Linked DNA regions of Homo sapiens: regions 2, 3, 4 and 5 are each linked to region 1. Evidence: promoter capture Hi-C in 16 types of primary human blood cells and fetal thymus (Javierre and others, 2016). All regions are on one chromosome and are shown on one strand. The core of a region is centred on a gene start or on the middle of the fragment in contact, and the rest is flanking DNA. Distances in the headings are between cores, read along the strand shown. Region 1 holds the start of CDC25A (cell division cycle 25A). Region 2 holds the start of SHISA5 (shisa family member 5). Region 3 holds the start of TREX1 (three prime repair exonuclease 1). Region 4 overlaps DHX30 (DExH-box helicase 30). Region 5 holds the start of CELSR3 (cadherin EGF LAG seven-pass G-type receptor 3).

The links. Contacts are between HindIII fragments. The CHiCAGO score rates a contact against its expected background, and 5 or more counts as called.
Region 2: the fragment with the promoter of SHISA5 here is called in contact with the fragment with the promoter of CDC25A in region 1 in 5 of 17 cell types (M2 macrophages, neutrophils, endothelial precursors and 2 more); the score reaches 8.4 in M2 macrophages.
Region 3: a contact is called between the fragment with the promoter of TREX1 here and the fragment with the promoter of CDC25A in region 1, in 17 of 17 cell types (megakaryocytes, endothelial precursors, erythroblasts and 14 more). The highest score is 13.3, in megakaryocytes.
Region 4: a contact is called between a fragment that was not itself captured here and the fragment with the promoter of CDC25A in region 1, in 2 of 17 cell types (megakaryocytes and endothelial precursors). The highest score is 7.4, in megakaryocytes.
Region 5: a contact is called between the fragment with the promoter of CELSR3 here and the fragment with the promoter of CDC25A in region 1, in 1 of 17 cell types (neutrophils). The highest score is 5.8, in neutrophils.

What each region holds. Positions count from the first base shown.
Region 1 is chr3:48,186,646-48,190,214 of GRCh38, forward strand. CDC25A (cell division cycle 25A) reads right to left here and starts at 1,772. Exons shown (of 15, transcript NM_001789.3): 1 at 1,133-1,772; 2 at 58-134. The coding sequence starts at 1,302. RefSeq lists an enhancer at 857-1,485 and a silencer at 1,229-1,438. The HindIII fragment of the contact is 7,442 bases long and covers 590-3,569 here.
Region 2 is chr3:48,502,544-48,506,330 of GRCh38, forward strand. It overlaps SHISA5 (shisa family member 5), which reads right to left and starts at 1,631. Exons shown (of 6, transcript NM_016479.6): 1 at 1,476-1,631. The coding sequence starts at 1,551. RefSeq lists silencers at 1,286-1,335, 1,346-1,825 and an enhancer at 2,163-2,716. The HindIII fragment of the contact is 7,520 bases long and covers 1-2,971 here.
Region 3 is chr3:48,464,680-48,467,479 of GRCh38, forward strand. TREX1 (three prime repair exonuclease 1) reads left to right here and starts at 1,551. Exons shown (of 2, transcript NM_033629.6): 1 at 1,551-1,630; 2 at 1,951-2,800. The coding sequence starts at 1,977. It overlaps ATRIP (ATR interacting protein), which reads left to right. Exons shown (of 13, transcript NM_130384.3): 12 at 152-404; 13 at 808-2,800. The coding sequence ends at 875. It overlaps ATRIP-TREX1 (ATRIP-TREX1 readthrough), which reads left to right. Exons shown (of 15, transcript NR_153405.1): 13 at 152-404; 14 at 808-1,630; 15 at 1,951-2,800. RefSeq lists enhancers at 777-866, 1,479-2,360, 1,947-2,146, 2,361-2,800. The HindIII fragment of the contact is 3,980 bases long and covers 1-2,800 here.
Region 4 is chr3:47,822,801-47,826,605 of GRCh38, forward strand. The region is part of intron 4 of DHX30 (DExH-box helicase 30); the gene reads left to right. Among named protein-coding and RNA genes, the nearest start is that of DHX30, 22 kb to the left of the region's middle. RefSeq lists a silencer at 2,006-2,295. The HindIII fragment of the contact is 174 bases long and covers 2,435-2,608 here.
Region 5 is chr3:48,660,916-48,665,023 of GRCh38, forward strand. CELSR3 (cadherin EGF LAG seven-pass G-type receptor 3) reads right to left here and starts at 1,971. Exons shown (of 35, transcript NM_001407.3): 1 at 1-1,971. The coding sequence starts at 1,719. It overlaps LINC02585 (long intergenic non-protein coding RNA 2585), which reads left to right and starts at 2,853. Exons shown (of 3, transcript NR_111921.1): 1 at 2,853-2,898. RefSeq lists enhancers at 1-280, 281-865, 1,977-2,166, 2,037-2,622, 2,937-3,296 and 2 more. The HindIII fragment of the contact is 11,755 bases long and covers 1-4,108 here.

The sequences.
Region 1 (3,569 bases), core at 522-3,021:
AAAAGGCATGTTTCAGGAAATTCAGAGTATTGCTCCCCACACAGCAGACTTAAATACCTGAATCTGTTGACTCGGAGGAGCCCATTCTCTGCAGATTACTGTTGTTCTTCACCTCCAGTGGTTGCTCATAATCACTGAAACCAACAGAAATAAACCATGAATGATTTATAGGATATAATTAAAAGGTCACATGCAGGAGATAGGCCATGAGATTAAGAAGCAGCCAGGCTGCCAGAAACCATTTCTAGGCCACACCACAAGTGGCAAAGATCCCACTTTGCCACTCTGAACACCCAATTAGCACTTGGGCAAAGGAGAAAAAAGGAGTGGGTGGGCATGGCCTTGGACCACATTGCAGGTTATGATGGCTATGGCAAATGTTGGGGTATTTCCTAAAATAAAAGCATGTGTTCTAAGTACTGAGACAGAGTCGGGATGAAAGTTGAACAGGACACTTTCTGCTTTTCAGAAGTTGGGAAACGCACAAGACATGTGCTTAGCAAACGGGATGCCAGAGATTGAAGGGAAAGTAGCTCTTCCGCGGGAAACACCGTGGGATGCATTTTTTGCTATCAGGAAAAGCCCAGGAAGCTTTCTGAAAGTTGGGTAAAAAGACCTGGCCTTAGGAAAGCAGCAGAGTGGACATCAGGAATGTGCACAGGGCGAGGGACTGAGATGATTTTACATAAACGCCAGGAAAGAAAATGCCATGGTCCTTTGTTGAGAAGGAACAAAGATCACAGCAAACGAAGATCCTGAGGATGGTTTAGCAAAGGGTGAAAGTGAGTGCCTAGAAGAGCCTGATTTTCCCCGCGGGGGTAGATTCCAAAGAGCTTCCAGGGATAGAGATAGAAGGAGAGTACGGAGCAATCCGAAAGGGGTGAAGGTGGGCCTGGCTCGGGCTTAGGCCCAAGGATCTCCACCTCTTCCCCTGGAAGGTCCCGACGGCCTCTCCCGCCCAACATTCCGCCCGGGCGGGGGTGCACATGGCAGGCCCTAGCCCGGCTGTCCCCGAGCGGCGAACCCGGACGGACGGGTCTCGCCCTTCTCCCGGTCCGTTTCCTGGCCTGATCTCTCCGAGGCCGACACCGAGGCCAGGGGCCCGGAGCACCGCCCGCCGGTCTCTCCTTACCTGCCCAGACCCTGCAGCTGGTCCATAGTGACGGTCAGGTTGGTGACAGGCGACAGTCCCCCGGCGGCTGAAGCGCCAAATAGCGCCTTCACGACGGGCTGCGACGCGGGAGGGGGGCTGCAGGCGAAGAGCAGGCGGCGGCGGTGCGGGGGCTCCGGGCCCAGTTCCATGGCGGCGCCCGGCCTCGCAGAGCTCCCGCTCCCTCTTCCTCTGCCTCCGCCGCGACCGCCCCGCCCCGCCGACACCGGCCTCGGCCGCGCGCCACCGGCGCCCGCGGGTCAAACACAAACACGACTCCGCGGTTCAGGGACGCGGCTGCCGCGGGCAAGCGGCGCGGCCGGGCGGGTGTGCGGACCCTCCAGGCGCCAGCCACCAGCCACAGGCACGGGTGCTTCCCTCTCACACCGCGAGGCCAGCGGGCGGGCGGGCGCCGGCAACCTGAAGATTAAATCCAAACAAACGTGGCGGGTCGGCAAGAGAAGCCGGGCGAGAGCCTCGAGGCAACGGCCCAGGCTCACGCTGTCTTCGCTGTTCTCCCACCCGCTTGCCCAGCTCCGGGTAGCAGAAAACCAAGCCGACCTACACCTCTTACCCAGGCTGTCGCAGCCAGGCCGGCCTTTCGCGGTAATAGCGGCTCAGTGGGGCCAGCTGCTGCCCCGCCCCCCTTTCCTAGTTGGCGCCAAACGGAATCCACCAATCAGTAAGCAACTTCTCCTCCTCTCAACCGAATGGCAGCTAGGCTGGGCCAATGAGAGGGGAAGAAGAAAGCGGCTCGCGGGACTCTGCCAGGTCATCGGCTCTCAGAAGGGGGCGGAGCCCAGAGCAGAAGAGCGGGGATCAAAATGAGAGGGGGAGCAGAGGTCAATGAAAACTCCCAGCAGAACCTGCGAGGCGCTGCTCGCGGCTGAAAGGCCCCTTTGCCCCGTCGCATGCTGGGAAGCGTAGTTCCCATCGCGAGCTGCCGTCCAGTTAGCTTCGGCCCCCTTTGGGCCTCCGCTACCTCGCCCCCAGCCGGGCGCCCCACACTCTGAGGCAATGTGGAGGCTAAGGAAGACCTGTGGAGGTCTGGCCGGATCCAGCCTTGGCTCGGCCTCTAACCGTGCAGTATTGTGGACCCCTTTCTTCCGCCCCGGGCCTCCAGGCCCCATTTTATAATGAGGGAGGGAATGCAATGACCCCCAGGACTGGACTCGACCACCAGGGCCCAACTCTGGAGGGCTCACAGACCCTGGGTGCTGCTGGCCTCATGGGATTTGAACCCCGCAGTACAACCTGTGCTGTGGGCCTCAGCATTTTTTGCTCACTTCCATTCTAGCCCTTATTGGATGCTCTTAGAATCATTTCTTTCTTTCCCACCACTTCTTAGCCCCCTGGGAGCTCCTAGAGAGAAATAACAGCAAACACAATAATAGCAAATAATAGCTAAAGTTTACATAATGCTTATGCACTTGACACTGTTCCCAGTGTGTTAATCTGTATTAATTCATTTAATCTTTACAACTCTGTGACATAGGAATTATCCCCATTTTCTAAGTGGGCATATTTACTTTTACAGCGCCGAACCTGTGGCAGCTCCTAGACGGATTTTGAGGGCCATAAGTGCATGATTTAATTGCAACCTACTGCTGGGCTTAGTGGCTCACGCCTATCATCCCAGCACTTTGGGAGGGCGAGGTGGGAGGATTGCCTGAGCCCACGAATTTGAGACCAGCCTGGGCAACAAAGTGAGACACCCCCTGCCCCCCACTCAAAAAAAAAAAACCCTACAGTTTGAAAAGCCATGCTGGACAGGTGGAAACCCCAAACCTTTGGCCCCAACACCAGACCCTTCACAGTGAGGAACCTCTCTCTCAGGATTCATCTCCTTTTCTGTGCACCAGTGCTCCACCACCCAGGAACCTCCCTTCCCTCCAGAAACCCCAGGCTATTTAGGCCTCTCTGCACAGTTCACATGGTCTGTGGTCCCACTGTTTCAAATAGTTCTCCCTGTCGTATCTCTGAATACTTTCCTCTCCTCCTGTGTTTTATGTGGTTTAATACTTGGCTCAACAGGCCGGGAGCGGTGGCTCACGCCTGTAATCCCAGCACTTTGGGAGACCGAGGCGGGCGGATCACGGGGTCAGGAGATCGAGACCATCCTGGCTAACATGGTGAAACCCCGGCTCTACTAAAAATACAAAAAATTACCGGGCGTGGTGGCGGGCGCCTGTAGTCCCAGCTACTCGGGAGGCTGAGGCAGAAGAATGGCTGAACTCGGGAGGCGGAGCTTGCAGTGAGCCAAGACCGAGCCACTGCACTCCAGCCTGGGCAACAGAGCGAGACTCCGTCTCAAAAAACAAAAACAAAACTTGGCTCAACATTCCTGTTACTGCATTCATTCATTCAACATATGTTTATTTAAGGATTACTAGAACAAATTCAGTGCTTGAAATAATAC
Region 2 (3,787 bases), core at 381-2,880, 320 kb after region 1:
CTGACAACAAATGTGGAAAATAACCCAGGTTTTTGGATGACCACAAGGTTTACAAACCTCCAGGAAGATGCTACAGTCAAATGTTCCCATGTATCCTCAGGCTACATTAGCAGAGACCTGTGCCCACTAACAGGAAGGAACAGTACCGGATTCTGCCAGGGCAGACTCCAAAGAGAATACCTAGTCCAGCAAGGCCCACAAGTCCGCAGTAGGCAGGGGACAGGTCTGATGATAGCCCTGAGGCATAACTACATCGGCCTGGAAACAGTCTGCCATAGCACGTGGCCTCTGGAGACCCAGCCAGGCCAGGCACCTGGCCATGTGCAGCATCTGGTGCCCGGGCCTGATCAGGACACCACACACCCCGAGGCTGTCAGTAGAGTGAAGCCCAGAGACAGAGACACCAAGTGACCTCCTTGGGAAGAGGGAACTTTAGTGGGGAGTTGGGGGGAACTGCACTTCTTGGCAGCTCCAGGCAGAACCCTGCTCTGGGCAAAGCCATGGAGCAGAGGATTGGACCATTGACAAGCCCAGTTTGGCCAGCTGCCCACCTGAAAGCTGGTATCATCAGCATGGCCCGTGCCTGGTGGCTCAGGTGAACCCATATGCAGCAAGGTCTTCACAGCCCAATCTGAGCCTCTGAGCTAGGGCTGAAGACACACCGGTGAGGCTGTTTAGGCTGAGTCCATGGCACAAATGCTCTCTGACCCCCAGACCTCACTGAATCAGTGACCGACCCTCCTACAGGCTCACTCCAGGAGTGGGCGGATTCTGGGCACAAGTCTCCCCTTTCTCATTTCTCTAGCCCAGGTCCTCTGGATTCATCCCAGCCCCCAGGAAATACAGCCTTCCCCTCCACGAAGCCACCCACCCCAAAAGGGTCTTTGGCTTCCCATGGGTGGGCAGGGGATTGTTCCAATTCCTAACCCTTTAAAGGACCCGCCCCCAGCCAGCCTTCCAGACTCTGTGAATCACCTATCTGCAACCAACACACACAGTGGTGTCTCCACCCCAGAGGCCAGCCTCAGCGCCGGGCTCTACAGGAACACAAGGGCCAACGGAGGCAGCGGTGGGGGCTCCCAGACATTAAACAGAGGCAAAGAGGGAAGGCCTCTGATGGAGGGGCCAGCTCGCCCTGCAGCCACCCGCCAGACTAAAGCCAGGCAGGGAACCCTACCCTAGCCTCTGGGGACTCCATCCCCTGGAACATGGGCGGGAGGGCAGACCCCTCCCCACCGTTCCAGGACAGACAAAGGTGGCAGCTGCCTGGTGTCTAGGCAGGGTTGTTCAGGCAAGGAGGGTGCTGGGGTGGAGGAGGGGTCCGCAGTCGTGGGGGTTCGCTGACGGCCTCGGGGCAATCAGGGGTCAGTGGGGGGCATAGTGGGGCTGGTGCTGCCCGGCTCGTTGGAGAGGCAGCGCGGGGAAGTGTCTGCCCGGTCCCAGGGCAGGACGGGCCGCCCCCACCCCCGGCTCACCACCCGGAGGCGGCGTTAGCAGCAGCAGCAACAGCAACGGCAACAGGATCCGCGGCGCGGGGACCGGCGCAGTCATGGCTGGGCGGGCGGACGGGCGGACGGACGCGAGCGCCGGGCGCAGTGCCGCCACAGCCTCAGTGATCCGCGCGGCCGCCCCTCTCCCTCGCCCCGCCCCGCCCCGGCCCGGCTGGTTCCCGGAACCTCTGTCCGGGGGAGCAGGAGGAGGAGGAGGGAGGAGGAGGGAGGAGGGAGGAGGGAGGAAGGTGGAAGGAGGAGGAAGGAAGGAAGCGGACGACTTCCCAGCCTCGGGGCCAGCTTCGCGCCCGGGGTCTGCGCGAAAACTTGGTACCGGTTCCCAGACTCGGACAGGCGCCGGGCGACGCACGGAGTTTCCTTCTGCTCACCGGATGCATGGGGGGCGGCGGCGGCCCCCAGCTCTCAGGCCTGGAGGGCGTCCCCGGGAATATGCACCCTGACACTGAGCGCCTACTGTGTGGGCTGGGGGACAGCCACAGCCATCCCTCCCAGCCGCAGTCCCGGCGGATCCTCACTTGCCCGAGGGCTACGTGAGGACTAGGTGAGGCGGTGCGAGGACAGTGCCCAGCGCAGACCTTGGCACTCAGTAGACACTCCACAAATGCCGGTTCCCTTCTACAGGCCCAGTCGCCAGCTCAGAGGACACTCGATCTCCTGCCCCCTGGGACTGACACCATCATCCCAAGGTGATCCCCAGCCCCAGCCCTGGCAGGCTCAGCGCTGGCGCAGTGGGCCAGGACTGAGCTAGAAACTGGCAGCTCCCAGGGCACACAGCCAGGCCAACTTCCCACACAGGGCTCCGCCCCCTCACTTCGGGGCAGGGGTCCAGGCAGAATCAGGGATGTTGAGTCATTCTTCCTTTTATGCCCAGAGTTCCTGACCCACCCCCACTCTGCACCTAGCACAATCAGAACATTTCACTCAAGACAGAAAACGTGAAATGTCACACTAGTGGGGCACCCAGGCTGGGTTGTGCACCCTGTGTGCCACCATATATTTCTCACCTAAAGGTGGGGGCATCGCTGTGGACAAAGAGAAACCCAAGGGGACAATCTGGGATGTTCCCAGTAGTTTCCCAGGCTAGGGTGTTAGAACAGGGAGAGGAAGGCCTGGGTCTCCAATAAGCCCCCATCACCTCCTGGCCAAGAAGGGCTTAAGACTCACCGTGCTCAATACACATGTGGGGGGCAGGGATATGACAGTTCCCAGGCAGGATGCCCTCTGGGAGGGTCTTAGTGAGGGACTGGAGTCACATCCTCCCTGACAGCCCAGCCTGGTTATCCCACCTCTGCCTCCTGAGCGCCACTCTCCAAAGCTGGGTGCAGCCTAGGTCCCCCTTCTGCAGAATGGCCAGTGTATGCTCCTCATGTCCAGCTCTAGAGCCATCCTGTGTTCCACACCCTGGGTGCCCAGCCCTCTGCCTCCCTAAAGGTTGCTCATTCCACTCTGCACCATCCACAAGCTTGGTTTCTTGTTCCTTGGTTTTCCAGTCCCTGCCCCCCAGCCAAGCTCCTAAGAGTTGTTCTAAGCCTGGGCAACATAAGGAGACCCCATATCTACAGAAAATTTTAAAATTAGCTGGGTATGGTAGCAAGCACCTGTGGTCTCAGCTACTTGGGAGGCTGAGGTGGGAGGATCATTTGAGCCCAGGAGATGAAGGTTGCAGTTATGATTGTGCCACTGCACTCCAGTCTGGGCAACAGAGCAAGACCCTGTCTCAAAAATAGAAAAACAAGGCCTGGTGCAGTGGCTCACACCTGTAATCCCAGCACTTTGGGAGGCAGAGGCAGGCAGATCACCTGAGGTTGGGAGTTTGAGACCAGCCTGACCAACATCTCCATGTTGGATAGACATGGACCAACATCTCCATGTTCAGTAGAGCCCCGTCTCTACTAAAAATACAAAATTAGCCAGGTGTGGTGGTGCATGCCTGTAATACCAGCCACTCAGGAGGCTGAGGCAGGAGAATCGCTTGAACTCGGGAGGCAGAGGTTGTGGTGAGCCAAGATCGCGCCATTGCACTCCAACCTGGGTGACAGAGCAAGACTCCATCTCGAAAAAAAAAAATGAAAAAAAAAAGAATTGTCCTTTCCCACCTCCTATGCTTGCCTTTGGCTTCTCTACTCTGCTGCCCCCAACCCCAGATCCTTTAGGGGCCTCTCACCTGGCCTCTTCCTCCCTACTTTTTTGGTCTTTGGCTCTCCCATACCCTCTTATCTGCCCACAGCTCATGGTTGAGCTTGGTGGGTGTTTTGGGCTCCACCCAGGGCTGTGCA
Region 3 (2,800 bases), core at 301-2,800, 280 kb after region 1:
AACAGCTGGCAGCTCTGGTGGTAAGGGGGCCCCGTGCAAGGACTGTAGGCCCCACTGCAAACCCCCTCACGTGAGGTGGCTAGGCTGAGCGGATTGTTAGGGTGCAGGCCATGGTGGCACCAGGCCTCAGTCTGCACCCCCCCTCTCTCAGGTGGTCAGAGCGCTCACGGTGATGTTGCACAGACAGTGGCTGACAGTGCGGAGGGCAGGGGGACCCCCAAGGACCGACCAGCAGAGGCGGACAGTGCGCTGTCTGCGGGACACGGTGCTGCTGCTGCACGGCCTATCGCAGAAGGACAAGCTCTTCATGATGCACTGCGTGGAGGTCCTGCATCAGTTTGACCAGGTGATGCCGGGGGTCAGCATGCTCATCCGAGGGCTTCCTGATGTGACGGACTGTGAAGGTAAGCCTGCCAGAGGCCATCCTGCCCAGCCCCCATGGCTTCTTCCAGAGGTTCCCCAACAAGTCAGATTCCTGGGTGTCCCCTCAGCAGGCCCCCGCCCACTGCAGCCTGTTCCAGCACTGGGGCCATTTTCTTTTATCTTCCTGCCTCAGTTCTTCTCCAAGCATATTGGGATGCCTTTTGCATCTATCTGTTGAGTGTGCCTGGCAGAGCCACGGTTTTTCCAGAAATAGCCGTGTCTGAATTGCCTTTGTATCACTTTGTTTGCAGTAGCTGAGGGAGCAGGGCCTGGGTGTGGAAGGGACTGGTTAGTTCCTGCGGACGTTGGGGGAGGAGAGGTGGGACCTGCCCTAGGCCCTGGCACCTTTGGGCCCTCACCAGGAACCTCTCCTTTTTGTCTCAGAGGCAGCCCTGGATGACCTCTGTGCCGCGGAAACCGATGTGGAAGACCCCGAGGTGGAGTGTGGCTGAGGCCCTGAGTGTCCAGCCACATGGTGGCACCAGCACCACTCCTTTCCTTACCACATCAACTGATTAAAGCAGTGACCAGCAGGAACTGCCCAGAGAACTGGCTGGCCTTGTTTCCTGAGTCTGATCTGTTTGGCGGAGTGGGAGGGGTGGAGCAGGACCCGGACCCTGAGTGGCTGGGATCCTTCTTCCTGTCCCTGGCTGTTGCTGAGCCCGTCCCCATGGTAACTGATCTGCCTTGAGGAAGGAGCCCTGCCCTGCCTGTGGAATTGTCCTGAGTCATTGCTTTGGGCTGGGGCCATGGGAAGAAACCATTGTGTGGCAGGGAAGGAGGTGGCTCTTGGCCCAGGCCTAAACCAGGAAAGCCTGGGAAACTGGGACCCACAGGTGGGCATGAAAGGGCCGCAGCAGGGGCTCCCAGCAGTGTGTAAGACCGGGAGCTGGTCTGGCACCACTGCCCTGGTCCTTCCAGCTGCCTGTCACTGGTATGATGGCCCCGGTGCATTGTGCCACCAGCAGGCCACAGCTGTGGATCTTGGAAGGCCTCTGGGGTCCCCCGGGAGCAGGGGAGTGGGTGTGGGGGGGAACGGATGGTGGTGAGAGGGACAGACCAGGCAGGCTGACGAGCAGGGCGGGCCTGGCTCACGTGGGCCTGTAGGCGGGCCCACGCCAAGTTTCACTTCCCGCCACTGCTGCCAGCGAGAGCCGCGGGAGAGTGTGCAGCCGAGTCACTACTGCCTGCCTGCCTGCCTGCTACGGTGAGTGTGGCCCCCACAATGGGATGGCGCAGGGCAGGAGGGCCATGGGTTCCCCCACCCCAGACTAAGGGGGCACTAGGGGAGGGGCCGAGTCATGTGAAGAGGGAGACCCTCTCAGACAGTCGAATGTGCTGGTCCCACTAAGGAAACCACCTCACCCTCTCCAACTTCCTGCCTGAAAATGGGCCCTGGAGCTCGCAGACAGGGCAGGATTGTGCAGGGAAGGCCTGAGATGTGCTTCTGCCCACCCCCTACCCCACTCCCTCCCCTTCGGATCTTAACACTGGGCACTCACACACCCACCCCATGCTCCTCTCCAGGCTCAGCAGCAGGTACGTACCCAACCATGGGCTCGCAGGCCCTGCCCCCGGGGCCCATGCAGACCCTCATCTTTTTCGACATGGAGGCCACTGGCTTGCCCTTCTCCCAGCCCAAGGTCACGGAGCTGTGCCTGCTGGCTGTCCACAGATGTGCCCTGGAGAGCCCCCCCACCTCTCAGGGGCCACCTCCCACAGTTCCTCCACCACCGCGTGTGGTAGACAAGCTCTCCCTGTGTGTGGCTCCGGGGAAGGCCTGCAGCCCTGCAGCCAGCGAGATCACAGGTCTGAGCACAGCTGTGCTGGCAGCGCATGGGCGTCAATGTTTTGATGACAACCTGGCCAACCTGCTCCTAGCCTTCCTGCGGCGCCAGCCACAGCCCTGGTGCCTGGTGGCACACAATGGTGACCGCTACGACTTCCCCCTGCTCCAAGCAGAGCTGGCTATGCTGGGCCTCACCAGTGCTCTGGATGGTGCCTTCTGTGTGGATAGCATCACTGCGCTGAAGGCCCTGGAGCGAGCAAGCAGCCCCTCAGAACACGGCCCAAGGAAGAGCTATAGCCTAGGCAGCATCTACACTCGCCTGTATGGGCAGTCCCCTCCAGACTCGCACACGGCTGAGGGTGATGTCCTGGCCCTGCTCAGCATCTGTCAGTGGAGACCACAGGCCCTGCTGCGGTGGGTGGATGCTCACGCCAGGCCTTTCGGCACCATCAGGCCCATGTATGGGGTCACAGCCTCTGCTAGGACCAAGCCAAGACCATCTGCTGTCACAACCACTGCACACCTGGCCACAACCAGGAACACTAGTCCCAGCCTTGGAGAGAGCAGGGGTACCAAGGATCTTCCTCC
Region 4 (3,805 bases), core at 1,272-3,771, 360 kb before region 1:
AAAATAAGAAAGGCCAGGCGCAGTGGCCCACGCCCGTAATCCCAGCACTTTGAGAGGCCAAGGAAGGCGAATCATGAGGTCAGGAGATCGAGACCATCCTGGCTAACACAGTGAAACCCTGTCTCTACTAAAAATACAAAAAATTAGCCGGGTGTGGTGGCGGGCACCTGTAGTCCCAGCTACTTGGGGGGCTGAGCCAGGATAATGGTGTGAACCTGGGAGGTGGAGCTTGCAGTGAGCCGAGATTGCACCACTGCACTCCAGCCTGGGCAACAGAGCGAGACTCCATCTCAAAAAAAAAAAAAAAAAGAAAAGAAAGAAAAGAAAGGGGTTTCCCCTTATTAATCTATCAGATCTCTTGAGACTTACTCACTACTATGAGAACAATATGGGAGAAACCACCCCCATGATTCAATGACCTCCCAACCACGTCCCTCCCATGACACATGGGAATTATGGGGGCTACAATTCAAGATGAGATTTGGGTGGGGACACAACCAAACCGAGACAAAGACCCCCCTGGGAACAAACTAGTTGGTTGGCATCCCTGGTTGTTGTTTTTTTTTTTTTTTTTGTCTTTTTGAGACGGAGTCTCACTCTGTTGCCAGGCTGGAGTGCAGTGGCGCAATCTCGGCTCACTGCAACCTCCGCCTCCCGGGTTCAAGCAATTCTCCTGCCTCAGCCTCCCAAGTAGCTGGGACTACAGGCGCGTGCCACCATGCCCAGCTAATTTTTGTATTTTTAGTAGAGATGGGGTTTCACCATGTTGACCAGGATGGTCTTGATACCCTGACCTCATGATCCGCCTGCCTCAGCCTCCCAGAGTGCTGGGATTACAGGCATGAGCCACTGCGCCTGGCTGATTTTTTTTTAACATAAAAATCTAAACATCTGTTCAACACATGTGTTGTAAACTAGAAAAAATAGTATAATGAACCTGCAAGTACCTGTCACCCAGCTTCAACAATTAACAACTCATGGCCAGTGTTGCTTTGTGTATAGCTCTTCATTTTGGCTTCTTTAGAGGCAACTAAGAAATCATGGCATTTCAGCCTTATGCCAAATGGCTGTCAGAAAAGAGTGCTATCCTGAGGGCTTCCTCAAGTGCCACAAAGGGCTTGGGTCCTGCTGTCCAGGTGGGGCCTTTCTGTCTAGACTGTTGTCTCCTTCAGCTTTCAGATACCATTTTCTTTTCCTTTTTTTTTTTTTTTTTTTTTTTTGAGATGGAGCCTTGCTCTGTCACCCAGGCTGAAGTGCAGTGGCATGATCTTGGCTTACTGCAACCTCCGCCTCCTGGGTTCAAGCGATTCTCCTGCCTCAGCCTCCCGAGTAGCTGGGATTACAGGCGCGCGACACTATGCCCGGCTAATTTTTGTATTTTTAGTAGAGATGGGGTTTCACCATGTTGGCCAGGCTGGTCTCGAACTCCTGACCTCAGGTGATCTGCCTGCCTCGGCTTCCGAAAGTGCTGGGATTACAGGCGTGAGCCACTGCGCCTGGCGAGGAACAGCACTTTCACTGCTGGACTTTACGCTGGACCAGCTCAATTCTTGGCAGTTTCCAAAGCTGGGTGTTTTCACCTTCCCCTCCAGCCCTGGGGATTAAATCTGTTTCCTGAAGAGGTCTTCCTTGGCCTGGCTCCAGATTTTCTTTTTCGTTTTTTAAACTTTTAATAGAGTTGGGGTTTCACTATGCTGCCCAGACTGGTCTCAAAATCCTGGGCTCAGGGGATCCATCCGCCTCAACCTCCCAAAGTGTTGGGATTGCAGGCATGAGCCACGGCGCCTGGCCCTGGCTCCAGATCTTCACCAGGTTTACTTTGTAAGCCGTTAAATAAGATGGGGCTGCCAATTTGCCAGAGGCACGTGAGAGGTAGTTAGGAACAATTGGTAGGACCTAGAGGGAACTAACTTCGCTTCCTTAGATGACATTGAGCTAAGGCCTAGCATTATTTTCCCCCCAACAGCCTCATTCCATCTTCCTGCCTTCCATCCACACGACTGCTGGTTTAGATTTGCTGGAGAGTGAGCTCTGCAGGGTCCTAGCCCTGGGCAGCGCCGAGCCCGCCTACTGAAGGCCCAGGGCTGTGGTGAGCGAGGACGGGCTGCTGATGCCCTCGCCTAGGCTTGGGCTTCGGGTCCGCCCGGCCCGCAGGGGGCGCGCGGCGCTCGGGCCGGCCGCTCCCGTTCTCTTCGCCCGGTCCCTGCCGCGCACAGGCCTCGGGGTCGGCGGGAGCACGATGGCGGCCGCTAGGAGACTCATGGCGCTGGCCGCCGGCATCTCTCCGCGCCTGCAGCCGCTGGGTCCCCGCGCTGCTGGGCGACAGGGTCGCTCGCGCGGCTTCTCTTCAAGCTGCGCCCACCCCGACCACACCAAGGAAGCCGCCGAGGCCGAGTCAGGGATGGCCCCCGGCGGGCCTGGGGAAGGCGACGGAAGCTTGGTGAACGGTGAGGGCATCGGCGGGGGCGGGCGGTCCGCAGCGCCCTTGACTCCTGGGATGGCAGAGCTAGGGGCGCGGGCCGAAATCGGGCCTGGCGGCCGGGGGTCCTCTCTTCCATAGTGGCCAAGTTCGCCATCCGTCGGCGGGCAGCGGCCTTGCTGTTTGTAAAGCTTAGCGTGGCACAGGCCCGAATGGACCCTTAGAGTACCTGCTCCCGGCAAGAATAGGTGAGAGGTGCGAGACCTCGAGGGAGTGGGGAAAACGAGTAAAAGTCCAACTCCTGCCAGGATGAGTGGCCAAGGGCTAGAGCTTCTAGGGACAAGCATGCCCTCACCAGTGTGAGAAATAGCCCAAAGTAACTCCTGGGACATCAGGATCTCAAATAGAGACAGAATGACTGTTCTGGTGGATTCCAGCTTTGTGCCTCCCAAATAGTGCAGAGGATAAAACTGTTGAAAGCATCAAGGATGGGTAGAGAGCGCCAGCCTCCACCAACCTTATAGAGCTGAAGGTGGGGGCGGGGTGGTGGTCTCAGTGCAGCTCTATTGTTAAACCAGTGGGTGTAATGGGCTACTCGAAGTTGGGTCCCTCTGTGACGAAACCCCCCCCGCCCCGGCCAAGTCCACTTAGATATGGTTTCTTAACTGCTTAACTGCTTGACTCTTAGTTGCTTTACAAGTTACCGCTTAGAGGGAGACAGGATCAGGTGTCCTCCATCCTGGCCACTTGACACAGGAGTCTGTCCCAAGGAAACAGTCTCAAACCAGGCAGCAGAGTTACATCAGAACGCTTGGAAGCACTTTTTGAAAATATAGAGTCGCCTCCAACATCGCTCCCATTCTCAGGTCCCCTGTGGGGAGCTGGATGTCCATGCGGTGAAAAAGCTCCCCAGGTGATCAGTGTACACGCAGGTGCACATGTGCATATATACAGCTCCTTTTGGAGCTGCCAGAGGCTAGAGTGGAGAATGATATGGCCCCCCATGTTCCTAGCAGACCTCTTCATGACCTGGTTAAGCCTTGTGTCTGGTACAAGCTTACCCTAGGTAGATATCTCTTCCCTTTCTGCTCTGAGATTAATCCAAAAAACAAGAAAAAGAAGCGAGGTACCTCTCATGGTATCTGATGCATCAATTTTCCCCTTGATTCCAGAGAACTTGGGGGAGGAGTAATTCATGCCTGCTCAGATGTAGAGGTTTTCTTTCTTTTTTTTTTTTTTTTTTGAGATGGAGTTTCACTCTTGTTGCCCAGGCTGGATTGCAGTGGCGCGATCTTGCCTCACTACAACCTCCGCCTCCCGGGTTCAAGCGATTCTCCTGCTTCAGCCTCCCAAGTAGCTGGGACTACAGGCGCCTGCCACCAGGCC
Region 5 (4,108 bases), core at 721-3,220, 470 kb after region 1:
GTCCCGGTCAGTGGCCGTGACGCGCAGCACGACTGTGTGGGGGCGCACATCCTCGCGCACCTGCGCCACGTAGCGCTTCTCGCTGAACTGAGGAGCATTGTCGTTCTCGTCTAGCACAGTTATGTGTACGCGCACAGTGGCCGAGCGCGGCCCGGGTTCCTGGCCCTGGTCGCTGGCTTCCACCACCAGCTCATAGCTTTCCATGTGCTCGCGGTCCACTCGGCCGCTGGTGCTGATGAGGCCGGAGCGTGGATCAATCTCGAAGGCGGCGGCAGCTGCAGCGCGCGCAGCTGGCGGCCCCACGAAGCGGTAGCGCAGGTTGGCGTTGGGGGGCGCGTCGCCGTCAGTGGCACGCAGCTGCAGGATAGGGTAGCCCTCCTCCACATTCTCGCGAAGGGTCTCCCGGTACTGCGCTTGCTCAAAAACCGGCGAGTGGTCGTTGCGGTCGGCTACTGTCACGGCCACCATCGTGGTGGCCGAGAGGCGCGGCGACCCGTGGTCCTGCGCGGTCACACGCAGGTAGTGACGCTCCATGCTCTCGCGGTCCAGAGCTGCCGCCGTACGGATAAGGCCGCTCTGCGGGTCGATGCTGAACAGCTCCAGCGAGCGGCTGTTCATGAGTGCCGCCAGCGAGTAGACTAGGCGCCCGGCCTCGCCGGCGTCCGGGTCCTGAGCAACCACGCGTAGCACCGCGGTGCCTGCTGCCTCATTCTCCGGCACCAGCGTCTGGTAGTTGTACTGCGGAAACTGCGGGTGGCGGTTTGCGGCGCGACGAAAGCGTGCCCGGTTCGCCGAGGTTACTTTCCTGGCTTCAGGACGGGCCGGGAGTCCCGGGGGACGCGGCCCGGGGCGCTGCGGGAGGAAGCGGCAGCGGAAGAGACCCCGGGAGCGCATGCGCTTGGGCGCCGGCTCGGGAGCTGTCCGAGACTCGCGGGGTGCTGAACCTGATGCAGGAGCTGTCCTCGCCGTGCGTGGTGCTGAATCCAGCTCGGGGCCAGATCCCGAGGCCCCTGGAAGACAGTTCCGCCGGGGGGCTGTCCTTTCTGCTCCGGATGTCGTGGCTCTCTCGCCCTGACCCTTGCTCCCTGTTGCCCATAATTCCCCACAGCAGCGCGCGGTGCCCACTCTTTTGCGGGAGCCTGTCCCAGCGTTCCGCTGGGAGGACACCGGCTTGGGACCGTGGTGCCGAATCAAAAAGTCTGAAGGGAGGGGCGAGCTGTTCCCCGAGCCCGGGACCCCTGAGGACAGAGCCCCTGGTGACAGACTACCTCTTTGCAAAGGTCCTGTCCGCCCGCAAGAGGAGACCTCTGGGCGCCAGTATAACACAGACCCTGGTCCCTGTCCTGTCTCTCGTTCGCGGCTGCCCAATGGCTGGACGCCGTGTTCAATCCCCAGCTCCTCATTCGGCTGCTCAGGGGGCCCTCGACTATTCCGGGCGCTTTGCCTTCTCCCTCGGAGCCCCACGAAGATAGGCTCCCTGACCCCCAGGCCAGGCCCCCCATCCTCCCGGACCCCGGAAGACTCCGGACAAAGAGCTAAGGCTCCGCCACCGATATGCGCCCTTGGCCCCGTAGTGGCAGCTAAGCCTGGGTCCCAGCCCTGGTGCCCACCGCCCCCCAGCTCCTCCTGGCTGAGGGGGAACAAAGAGAGGAGAAGGAGCAGGAGTATGGGGGTCGACCGTCCCCCGAGGCCCCGCCACGGCGGCCGCCTCGCCATCATCCCCCGCCTCCCTGCACGGCCTCCACCGCCCCCCGCCCCGGTCCGGGCCTTGGGCTGGCCCCGCCGCTCGGGCCCCCTCCCGGGCCCCTGCCGCCGCCCCGGGCCCCCGCCCCTCCGCCTGTCTCTCCGCACCCCCGCCGCCCTCTGGGCACCATCTACTCCGCGGCCGGAGCCCCTCCGGCGTGCGGCCCTGGCTTTTTCCGCCCCCACCACAGCATCCCCGACGCTGCTGCCGCCTCCCGCCGCTCCAACATGGCTCCCGGCCGCCCCGATGGTTCGCTCCACCTCTGCCCCGGCGCCCGAAACACGGTGGTACAACCCATCGCGCATGGCAGCTCTGAGGACCGAAGATGTTGCCGCCATCTTTATTGAGGACGTGAGCGTTGCTCCTGGTGCTGAACAGAGCGCGAAGGTTCGCCGTCGTTGGGTCCGCCCTCCCCACTTTCGGTCGCCGCCTTCACCCACCTCCCTCCTTCTAGGGCGCTGTCCCAGCTCCGTCTCCCAGCCTTTTTCTGTCCTTCCAGATCTCTTGTTCCCCCTTCCTGACCACTAGTTCTGAACCGTGTCCCGGATTTTGGTCTGAAATTTTGGTGCCCATGAGCGTTCTCATAGCTCTGGGAGGGGGTACTGTGTGAAATCCTGGGGTAGAGGGGACGATGGCTGGAGAGGGGTCTGGGGTGCCAGCACCCCGAACAATAGCTTTAACTATCCCATCAGCTAGTTTTATGAAACATGTCGCGACCACCTGCTTGTTTGGATCGCCCCTGCGGAGCAGGGACCAGAGATGACCCTCCCGAGGCGGGAGCAGAGGCCAAATTCTTCCCTGCCTTGCTGGTCCCCAGCAGTCTCCCGGGCTCGGGGCCCCTTCACTGGAGGCTGCACCCCCTCCCAGGCTGCGAGTCCCGAGTGCTCTGGGATGCCACGTGGAGCCCGGCGTTGCCCCATGGCTGCGGGCCCCGCTTCTTCGGGTCCCCGCCCCTCGTCCGTCACGACCGCATGCCTTAACCCCTTGAAGGGACTGACACAGAAACTCAGTCCTCCCCCCACCCTCGGTGCATTCCAGCTCTCCCTGCGTAACTCCTGGCACGCGCCGGTCTCGCCAGGCCAATGGGTGGACCTGGCGCAACAGACGTCACGAGAGGAGCGGAGGCGAGGGGTGAACGCGGAGCACTCCAATCGGTCAGTCATTGTTTCTATTGGCACAATGGGAGGCCCCGCCCCTCACGGCGGACTCATCGCATGGGGGAGGGGGCTCCGCGGGTTGCCGGCTAACCGTGAGAGAGTCCGGGAGGTACACTATACGGACCGGCCTCCAAAGGCGGAATCGATAACGAGCTGCAGCGCCGGGTGCAGAGGACGCGGGCATCCCGAAGCCCAGGAAGAGGTCAGGGCCGGGACCCCAGAACGCTCCACAGGGTGCGGCTCCCGCGATGGGGTGGATCCTGGTTCTAACAGGCGAGGAACTCCTGGCCAAGGCCTCTGGCCCGCCCCGAACGGTCCCTATGACATCACCATCAACCAATCAGTCGGCGCATCCTTTCGCCCCTTGACTGCTCCGCTTCCGGGAGGCGGGGCTTCTGCGGGTTCCACCTCCCGAGCGCCCCTTGTGGCTACCAAGGTCAGGCAACAGGTGTCCAGTTGTTCCCTCTCCTGTCTACGAATCTGAGGACCTCCCCAGGATCAGAGCTCTGGGCCTGATACACGGCCGGGGTTCCTACGGGTTTGTGAGTGGGGGTGGAAGATCTGCAGAGGCACTTAGGGCTGAACTCCTTTGAATGGGAGCCAATCGGTGCAGGGGCTGGAGGAGCGAGTCCCCCAAAGTAGTTTTATTTATCTATTTAGAGACAAGGTCTCACTCTTTCGGAGTGCAGTGGTGATCACAGCTCACCGTAGCCTCGAACTCCCCAGGCGATTCTCTCACCTCAGCCTCCCGAGTAGCTGGGACTACGGGTACATGTCATCACACTTGGCTAATTTTTGCATTTTTTATAGAGACAGGGTCTCACCATGTAGGCCAGATTAGTCTTGAACTCCTGGGCTCAAGCAATCCGCCCATCTTGGCCTCCCAAAGTGCTGGGATTATAGGTGTGAGCCACCGCGCCCGGCAACCCAGAAGTGGTTTTGACAGCACCAGCGCTTTCTGTGTCCACAATCTAGTGAGTAGAGGGCACAAAACCTGACACCACGGAGGCAGACAGGCAGGGGCTCTGCCGGGGAAGGGTGTTGGAGTCCCAAAGGAGGCGTCTGAGTCACCTTCGCAACCTGGGACGCCTTCTTGCATAAGATGCCTGAGCAGTGCCTTGAATGACCAAGGGGAGATCCGCATCTGCAAAGGAAGGGCAGGGAGGGATAGGGATTGGGGGTGGGCATCCTAGGTCTTGGAGACTGT